Regions from separate parts of the Homo sapiens genome. Here regions 2 and 3 are each linked to region 1. Evidence: promoter capture Hi-C in human tissues and cell types (Jung and others, 2019). All regions are on one chromosome and are shown on one strand. The core of a region is centred on a gene start or on the middle of the fragment in contact, and the rest is flanking DNA. Distances in the headings are between cores, read along the strand shown.

Region 1 (3,289 bases), core at 336-2,835:
TGCATTCTATATTCTTGGTGTGAGATATCTGAAATAATACTGAGAAACAAGAGTCTTTATTCTTTTCTTTTCTTTTCAGACGGAGCTTCCCTCTGTTGCCCAGGCTAGAGTGTAGTGGCGCGATTTCGGTTCACTGCAACCTCTGCCTCCCAGGTTCAAGCGACTCTCCTGCCTCAGCCTCCCGAGTAGCTGGGATTATGGACACCCGCCACCGCGCCCAGCTAATTTTTTTGTTTTGTTTTGTTTTGTTTTTTGAGAGGGAGTCTCGCTCTGTCACCCAGGTGGGAGTGCAGTGTCGTGATCTTGGCTCGGTGCAACCTCCGCCTCCGGGGTTCAAGCAATTCTCCTGTCTCAGCCTCCTGATTAGCTGGGATTACAGGCTTGTGAAACCAAGTCCAGCTAATTTTTGTATTTTTAGTACAGACGGGGTTTCACCACGTTGGTCAGGCTGGTCTCCAAATCCTGAGCTGTGATCTGCCAGCTTCGGCGTCCCAAAGTGCTGGGATTACAGGGGTGAGCCACAGCTCCTGGCCTTGTTTTGTTTTTTTGATACGGAGTTTTGCTCTTTTTGCTCAGGCTGGAGTGCAATGGCTCCGATCTCGGCTCACTGCAACCTCCCCCTCCCGGATTCAAGTGATTCTCCTGCCCCAGCCTCCCGAGTAGCTGGGACTAAAGGCACGCGCCACCGCACCAGGCTAATTTTTGTATTTTTATTTATTTATTTTTTTAGTAGAGATAGGGTTTCACCTTATAGGCCAGACTGGTCTTCAAACTCCTGACCTCGTGATCCTCCCGCCTCGGCCTCCCAAAGTGCTAGGATTACAGGCTTGAGCCACTGCGCCCGGCTCTAAGTTTTGTATTTTTAGTAGAGACAGCGTTTCGCCACATTGGCCAGACTAGCCTCGAAGTTCTGACCTCAGGTAATCCACCCTCCTCGGCCTCCCAAAGTGTTAGGATTATAGGCCTGAGCCACCGTGCCTGGTCTATTTTTTATTTTTATTTATTTATTTTTTTAATAGAGACGCTAGTCTCAAACTCCTGAGCTCAAGTGACTCTCCTTTGGCCTCCCAAAGTACTAGGATTACAGGCGTGGGCCACCACGCCCGGCCAACAGTTATTAAAATTACGATGATGAAATTTTAGGCATTTAGAATACTTCAGGCCAAAAACACTTTGAGCCAGGGGGCTCGCTCAAAGGCATGCGCAAAAGCCATCAGGCCTGTACCTGGAGAACTCAGGTGAGACGTTGCCACTCGTTGTAATCCCTCCCCCTAGCACTCGGCCCCCGAGCCTGGGCCACTGCCCTGGCTACACCGGGAAGTCTGGAGCTAGAAAGTGGGCCGTGCGCGTGACGGGCGCGCGTGACGCCGAGGGGGCAGGTCTGAGAAGCAGGCTGCGCCGGGATTCGGCGGTCGGTTCCCGCGGAAGGGGCGGGTCAGGTTAGGGGGCGGTGCTTAATGGGAGCTGGTCTTGGGGCCGGGCTTCCGCGTGCGTTGGCCTGGCGGCGAGAGCGCGCGGCGGGGGCGTGCCCGGCGGGCGGGGCGGGGCCAGCCGGGGGCGGGGCGGGGCGCGGCCTAACGGCGGCGGCGGCGGCGGCGACGGCGACAGCAGCGGTGGTGGTGTCTGGTTAGCTCGGCGGCTGCAGATCTCGCGGCGACGCCTGCGAGGGACCCGGGCCGCGGGTCGAGGCGGGCGGCGCCTGCGAGGGACCCGTGTCGCGGGTAGAGGCGGGCGGCGCGCGGCGGCGGCGCTCGGCGATGGTAGGCGTCCCTGGAGCGGCCGCCTTCCAGCGTAAGTGGGGCGTGAATGCGGGCGGCCGAGGGGGGCGTGTGAGGGCCTGCGGCTCCGCAGGCGCGGTGATTCCGAGTGCCCCGGGCGCGAGGCCGGGAGTGGAAACTGAGGCCCGAAGCGGGGCGGCGGATCCAAGGTCACGCAGCGGGGCGGGCCTTCCCGGGCTCCTGAGGCCACCCCGTCGCTTCCTGCGCCGCCCGAAGAGCTCGGGGCTCACGGTGTGAGGGAAATTGTGGGGCCCGCGGCCTCGGAACTTAGGCCGGGCCGGCGTCCATGGGACTTGCCGGCGGGCAAGAATCATTTTGTTGTCCCAGCGCTGGGGCCACGAAGTCCGGCTCCTGGGGAAATACTACACCCGCCCGATGTTGAGGGTTGGAGGAGATGAGAATGGCCCCTCGGAGGGCCTGTTTGAGCGCAGGCTCAGTAGTTGGCTACCTGGGTTCACATCCAGGCTTCCCCATTTAGGTAGTGACCTTGGCTCTCCCGGTGCCTCAGTTCCCCCATCTGCAAAATGGGGATGTGGAGCGGGTTCCCTCCCTCCCCCAGGGTTCTTGGGTTTTGTGAGGCCAGTAAAACGCTTGACACCGACCGTGGCACACACACAATTGTGAAAACTGTCATTATTGTAATCGTCCTTTATTAATCTGATCCAGTGTGCACCGCACTCGGAAAAGTCCGAAATTAGGCTCTAGCCGTGTTAAGATTTTGTTTTGTTGTCTGTTAGTCCTGCTCCATGATCTAATTGTTATTCTTACTTCCATTTAGCCATTCCAGTATTTATCTAGTGTTCCTCCTTGATGTGTGAGATCCTTGGGGGAGGGGTGGCTTCTCTGAATAAGAACAATAAAATTTTAATTGTTTTTCATTATTGTAATTATAATAGCCAACATTTTTTTGAGCACCAGACATTTTGCATTCTATTCACTTAATATTTATTAAATCATATAGTAAGTTTAAAAATACCATTCCAGGCCCTGGGAATACAATAAACAAGATAGACCGAACTGGGGTTTTGAGTTTAGTTAGGAGAGGGAGAGACATAGTAAATGAGGAAACAGATAAACATGTTTTGCATGTTTTTTTAATTGTTTAATCTTGATGACATCCTAAGTAAGACATTATTTGAGGATGCCCATTTTGCAGAGGATGAAACTGAGTAACAGAAGGTACTCTGAGTACTAGTCTCAGAGCTGATGTCCTTAAACACGTGAAAGGGAGGCTTTACGCTTCTTTTTTTTTGCACCCATTAAATGTTGGATTGAAGATAGAAAAAGTAGATACACCCAGCTTGCAGTTACTGCTTTTGATGGTTTGATCCATTCCTCATGAAATTTCCAACTAAAGAGGCGGATAGTGATTACTCTTTTAGGCTTGCAAAGGTACAGCATCTCTGTAAAATGAAAGGCTTTTTTTTTTTTGAGACGGAATCTTGCTCTGTCGCCCAGACTGGAGTGCAGGGGTGTGATCTTGGCTCACTGCAACCTCCGTCTCCTGGGTT
Region 2 (3,132 bases), core at 84-2,583, 89 kb before region 1:
TCACCTCCTGCTGTGCAACCCGGTTCCTCACAGGCCACAGACAGGTACCATTCTACCACCTAGGGTTAGGGGAACCCTGCTATACACGTGTAAAGAGCAGATGTGGCCCATTACCTTTCCAATGAGATGACCTGCCACATCTGCTACTAGCACTTAGGAGCAATGCCAACCCAGTTTCAAGAGTCAGAGAAGAACAGCCTTAAAGTGTGAACTTTAAAATCGCCCCTTTCTACTCCATAATTGCTGTGTGACCTTTGGCAAGACAAATTTCTGTCTCTGAGCCGCCAATTCCACATGTGTAAAATAAGGATAAAAGCAGCACCTACCACCCCATAAGTGTTATTAAGAATAAGATATTAAAAACCCAACTTGAGATACAGTAAGCGTTCACTAACTGCACATTTACAGCCCACACCCCCTTTCACAGAGAGTATTAGAGCATCCTGGTTAAGAGTATGAACTCCACTAAAAATACAAAACTTAGCCGGGTGTGGTGGTATGCGCCTGTAATCCTAGCTACCCAGGAGGCTGAGGCAGGAGAATCGCTGGAACTCGCGGGGCAGGGGCTACAGTGAGCCGAGATCGCGTCACTGCACTCCAGCCTGGGCGACAGAGCAAGACTCCCGTCTCAAGAAAAAAAAAGTATGGACCCTGGAGTCAGAATCTGACCCCACTGCTGCCAAGCCAGCTAAACCTTAGGCACCTGTCTTAAACTCTGGGAGCCTCTAGATGGGGATAATAGCACCTATCTCCATAAGCCTACCGTAGGATCAAATGCAATAATACAAGCAAAATGCTTTGCATAACGCAATGTAGAAGCCTCTCTGGAGGCTCGAAATTAATTCTGACAGTCGGCAATGAGGCTGGAACAACAGCGTACAACATCCCAAACATTTTATTGGCTGGTTACAATGCGTTAGGCATGGTGCAAAGCATTTTCCGCGAATTATTACCTATAACCCTCATAGCAACCCTGTGAGGCAGGCTGTACTGTCAACCCCACTTCACGGGTGGCGAAGCGAAGCCTTGAAAGAAGTGGAGGTGACCTGTCCAAGGTCACACGGGGTTAGGCGGCGGGGTTAGGGTACGAACCCCTACAGCCTGACGCCAGGCCCCACGCCATAACCACCGTGCCATCCTCCCTCTTGAACACCGTGCGCTTCCCGGGATCCGCGGCCCCTCCTGCCCCAGGCGCCAGTCAAAAGCGGGTGCGCAGCCCACCCCGGCGGCCGCGCTGCTCACCTCCCGCAGCAGCAACAGTGCCCGGGGTCCCGCAGCGTAAGTTCTGCCGGCAAGTCGGATCCCCTCACAGGTCCGCCGCTGCGTTCATACACAAGCGACTTCCGTTCCGCCGCTACTTCAGGCCGGGTCATGCTAACGGAAGTGCTTCCTTTTTACAGTCCGGGTGGACCCAAAGCTCCGTGGCGGTGCTGAACTTTAGGGCAGCCACTAGCCACGGACTTAAGCGGCAATTGAGCTCCTCAAAGTGGGTGAGTGCAAATCAAATGTGCGCTAAATGTCAGATACACTGGATGTGGAAGAAGAAATGTCAAATAGTGTCAAATAGTTCATATATATAATGTTTATATTGATTATGTGCTGCAATAATTGTTGGGATATATTGGATTAAATAAGTACATTTGTTGAATTAGTTTTTTTTATTTGTAGCTATGGTGGTAGAAATATTTGAATTAAGTTCACCTGTTGTTTCTTTTTACTTTTTCAATGTGGCTAGCAGGGGGAAAAATAATATGGTGTGATCATGGCTCACTGCAGCTTCCGCCTCCCATGCTAAAGCAATCCTCCCACCTCACACTCCCAAGTGGCTGGGACTACAGGCAGGCGCCACCACGCCCAGCTAAAATTTTTTTAATTTTTTTGTAGAGACCGGTCTCCCCATGTTGCCCAGGCTGGTCTCAAACTCCTACCTAGGCGCAAGCCATCCTCCCACCTTGGCCTCCCAAAGTGCTGGGATTGTAGGCATGAGCCACCGTGTCCGGTCCTTACTGGGAAATTTTAAGTCACCTAAGAGGTTCACGCTCTATTTCTATTGGAGGGTGCTGCCCTGTAGGTTAATGACTTCCTGATTCACATCTCCAGCTGGACCCTCCCTGCAGTACCAGAGCCATAGCTCAGCTGCCTACTTGACACCCCTTCTTGAGTGTCTGATGACCATCTCTAACTTATACAGAACTCTTCATTTCCACACATGCACCTTCACCAAAAACCTGTACCTGTCATTCTGGCCCATCTCAGTAAATGGCCCAACCATCCTTCCAGGTGCACTAGGAGGAACTGAATGGTCATTTTCTTCACCTCCCTGGATCCCCACATTCTATCTGTCAGTAAGCCCTGTCAACTCTAACTCCAAAATGTCAAATCTGTCTACTCGGTAGCTACAACTACCCAGGCCACCATTGTCTCATCAGAAACAATCACAGTAGCCTGCTAATGGTCACCTTGTCTCCTGAGAACAGTTTCCCACACATAGCCTAAGGGAATTTGTGTTTGTTTTATTAAATCAAATTATATCACCCCTCTCCTGAAAACTCTCCGTGGCAGGCCGGGCGTGGTGGCTCACATCTGTAATCCCAGCACTTTGGGAGGCCAAGATGGGCAGATTGCTTGAGCCCAGGAGTTCTAGACTAGCCTGAGCAACATGATAAAACCCCATCTCTACAAAAAACACAAAAATTACCCCGGCATGGTGGTGGGTACCTGTGGTCCCAGCTACTCAGAAGGCTGAGGCAGGGAGGATTGCTTGAGCCAGGGAAGTTGAGGCGGCAGTGAACCATGACCTCAACACTGCACTCCAGCCTGGGTACCAGAATGAGACCATGTCTTGAAAAAGAAAAAAACAAAAACAGCCGGGCACGGTGGCTTATGCCTGTAATCCCAGCACTTTGGGAGGCTGAGGTGGGTGGATCATGAGGTCAGGAATTCGAGACCAGCCTGGCCAATATGGTAAAACCCCGTCTCTACTAAAAATAAAAAATAAAAAATAGCTGGGCATGGTGCCGCGTGCCTGTAGTCCCAGCTACTCGGGAGGCTGAGGCAGGACAATTGCTTGAACCCAGGAAGCGGAGATTGCAGTGAGCCAAGATCGAGCCACTGCACTCCAGCCTGGGCGAC
Region 3 (3,238 bases), core at 120-2,619, 87 kb after region 1:
GTTTCACCATGTTAGCCAGGATGGCCTCGATCTCCTGATCTCGTGATCCGCCCACCTTGGCCTCCCAAAGTGTTGGGATTACAGGCGTGAGCCACCGCGCCTGGCCTAAGAGGTGTTTATAAGAAGCTGTAAGAGTCCAAATGTGGGAGGTTTTATTTCTGTCAAGGTGCACTTGAGTCTACCAGGGAGGACTTGGAGTTAGACCTTAAAGTAGGAGTTTCTAAAGTGCCAGAGACAGGGAAAGCAGGGCATTGCAGGTGGAGAGCACAACCTGTTTTATAGGCTTTCTGCCTCCTTAATATCTAGCAGAGGTCTCATCTTAATATAAAAGTAGATACTGGAACTTAGGAGTTTGCTCTGATGGCAGACATGGATACTTGCCCTGCCAGAGTGCCCATCTACCTTCCATTTATGTTGTTTGGATTCAGTCTCCACTATACTATAGCCTTATATTTGCATGGTGCTTTTAATTTTCAAAGCTTTTTATCCAAATAACAGCCCCTCAGGGATAGGAAATAAAAGCCAGCTGGTAGTGTTTTTATTTTTATAGAGGAGAAAACTGAGACATCACCATCATATCAGCATTTCATTTCCCAGATAAGAAGGTCTTTTTTTCATCTCTTGATTGCAAAGGGTGCTGCCCAACAGGAATAACCTCTCCCAATTTTCTGGGCACAGCCCAGAGTGCTGACTGAGGCAGCCACCAGGAGGGCGCCAGCAAGGCAGACAGCATGGCTGCTGATCACAGAGCTAACAGCTCGACATCTGCAGGCTGCAGCTGTACATTTTTGCTACAGCACATCCGTATTTCTGCTCACACTTGTGAAGAATCACAGAGTTTGGAAGAATATGAGTTAAACCGTTCCAAGTGTATAAGTGTGCTCCATCTCTGGGAGTTTTATTCTGTACTGGGTGGAGTGGTCTATGAGATCTTATAGCTGCTACTTTTCTCTGTTTATTTATTGCCATATTTAGTCCATCTTCCCTGTCCTAATTTTAGTTCAATGCCAAAAAAAGATGGAGCACTCCATAATAGATGAATTGAGAGGGTGCTGATTGTGTCACTGAAATGTTTGCCAAAGAAATTGTTTTTCTAGCTGATTTTGTTCTGCCTCCATCTTTCAGTCTATTTGGAAAACACAGTAGAGTACCTGGTTATCTTTCAGAGTGTCATTGTTAAATAATCATTTCAGTAAGCAGTGATGGCTGTTGATCATTTTAGACTTGTGCCTATACTAAGTATTTATCCATTTTTCTAATATACCTGGATTTTTAAAAATATTGATGGATAAAAACTTTCTGGATTGTTGATTTTGAGGAGGTATACCAAGAAGAGAAGGGTGATCTTGGTGTGGAGCCAACATCTTTGAAATCTTGGCTTATTTGTTCTTACTCCTTAAGGCACCCCATTGCCACTCCTTAAGCCCATGTATTTGACAGTGGGGCTTTTTGTCAGAAGCCTCTCTGATTGTCATTTGGGGACTTAAATGGGCTCCTACATAACAGCTTCTATGCTTCAATTTTCTAACTTGTCCAGGGTGTGCTTCAGCTGTAGACTGTGTATTTACGTTCATATATTTGTGAAGAAAGACAGGAACTATATAGTAGAATGTGAAGTCTCTCTGAACTGTAATCAATGTGTTTTATTAAATTCTTGGTCACAATGTGCAAACTTCATTGAGTCCTACAATAATTAATTCTTTTTGCATTATTTATTTTGCTATAGTATGGTCTCTGGAGCTCAGCAGAGCTGCCATTTCTTAGCCATATGACTTGGGACATAATTTTTGACTTCTCTGAGCCTTAGCTTCTGGTTAAATAAAGTGGTATTGGAGATGGTACCTTCTACTGTCTTAGTGTCATTTAAATAAGAAAATATTTTAGCACCATTCTTTGCGTGTAATAAATATTTTGTTATTTCTAAATGAATATATGAAGATGGAGAGTAATGGTAGCTATTACTATTATAGTTATTTCCTGACTTGTATTTATCCTTCCCAGCAAGAAAGTCTTGTCCTACTCAAATCTTGGGTAAATATGAAACTTGCTTCATTATCAGTGTGGATTGAGAAGGTGTGTACGGTGTTCCTGGGCATCTGAAGAAAGGCTTTTAAATCAGCTTTCCTTTGTGGTCAGTTGGTCACAAATAACATCAAAATATCAATTGTTAATATTCATATTTATTTTTTCCTTTACAGCTGACTACTTTAGTATTGGTACACCTAATTAAAATTTTTCCACCTCTAAAATTTTTTCTAGGGCAATTTATATATGATTGAATTAATTTACATTGAGTATTAGTTTCCTTGGTTTTTAAAAATAGATCCCCCCAAAATGGTAAGGAGTTGAGAAGTTAAGGCTGTGAGCAAATAGAGAATTTGGGCCTAAAGTTTAATGTGGAAATGAGAAGATGATTTCAATTGATTTGTAGAAAGAACCATAATGAAGGGAATTTTCTTAAGTAAACTTATGTTTGTACCCATTTGCTACTATTTTTCTCTTAGAGCTTTTAGCACTTTCTCCCTGTCATAAGGTTGTAGAGTTGCCATACTCTGAGGTGTCCCACAAGGCTAGCACAACAGCCCTCTGCTTGTGGTGCATACAGCTATCATCCAAAGGGGCCAACCACATGACATGGCAGTGTATTTCCAGATGTCATTCTCTCTGTTTGGATGACTTGGGAGCTTAAGAAGGGTATTTTCTCTTGAATAGGAGAAAAATTGTTACTTTGGCATAAGGCCCACTCTGGCACCATTCCCACATCTGTTATTGATTAGAAGTGAATGCTGGTCAGTCAGGATGCAAGAGTGCTGGTCCGATTATCAAGCTCAGCCTTCAGGATGAAATACTGCAGGAAATCTGAAGGATGGCATAAACTGGCTCTACACAGTCTTTAAAAAGACCCTTTCATAAGCTATTGTACAAAGACCTGGTGTAAAGAAATAGCCTGAGTGATGTCTACATGTTAAGAAGATGCCGTAACATGTACATGTAGGATCTATTCTTAGAGGGGAGCAGTGGAATGGGTGGTGGAATCCTTATGCAATGATTTTTAAAATATATAATAAACATGCACAGATACTAAGTGTTCAACCCAATGAGTGCCTTTTTGGTTTTTTTGGGGGTTTTTTTTTGTTTTTTTTTTTTTTTAAGGAAAGCGTCTCCTTCTGTCGCCCAGGCTGGAGTGCTGTGATTACAGACATAAACCACCATGCCTGGTCTATTCATGTTTTTAATT

Evidence for each region. Contacts are between HindIII fragments. The study calls those that stand out against the background at their distance.
Region 2: a contact is called between the fragment with the promoter of CDK5RAP1 here and the fragment with the promoter of CBFA2T2 in region 1, in 3 of the 25 tissues and cell types used here (IMR-90 fibroblasts, aorta and stomach).
Region 3: a fragment that was not itself captured here is called in contact with the fragment with the promoter of CBFA2T2 in region 1 in 4 of the 25 tissues and cell types used here (aorta, dorsolateral prefrontal cortex, mesenchymal stem cells and 1 more).

Annotation. Positions count from the first base shown.
Region 1 is chr20:33,488,511-33,491,799 of GRCh38, forward strand. CBFA2T2 (CBFA2/RUNX1 partner transcriptional co-repressor 2) reads left to right here and starts at 1,586. Exons shown (of 11, transcript NM_001032999.3): 1 at 1,586-1,791. The coding sequence starts at 1,758. RefSeq lists an enhancer at 753-1,301 and silencers at 1,396-1,615, 1,626-1,905. The HindIII fragment of the contact is 17,917 bases long and covers 1-3,289 here.
Region 2 is chr20:33,400,186-33,403,317 of GRCh38, forward strand. CDK5RAP1 (CDK5RAP1 mitochondrial tRNA methylthiotransferase) reads right to left here and starts at 1,334. Exons shown (of 14, transcript NM_016408.4): 1 at 1,243-1,334. It overlaps LOC124904889 (a long non-coding RNA gene), which reads left to right and starts at 1,397. Exons shown (of 2, transcript XR_007067567.1): 1 at 1,397-1,490. RefSeq lists enhancers at 1,045-1,134, 1,275-1,474. The HindIII fragment of the contact is 17,720 bases long and covers 1-3,132 here.
Region 3 is chr20:33,575,981-33,579,218 of GRCh38, forward strand. The region is part of intron 1 of CBFA2T2 (CBFA2/RUNX1 partner transcriptional co-repressor 2); the gene reads left to right. Among named protein-coding and RNA genes, the nearest start is that of C20orf144, 85 kb to the right of the region's middle. The HindIII fragment of the contact is 7,720 bases long and covers 1-3,238 here.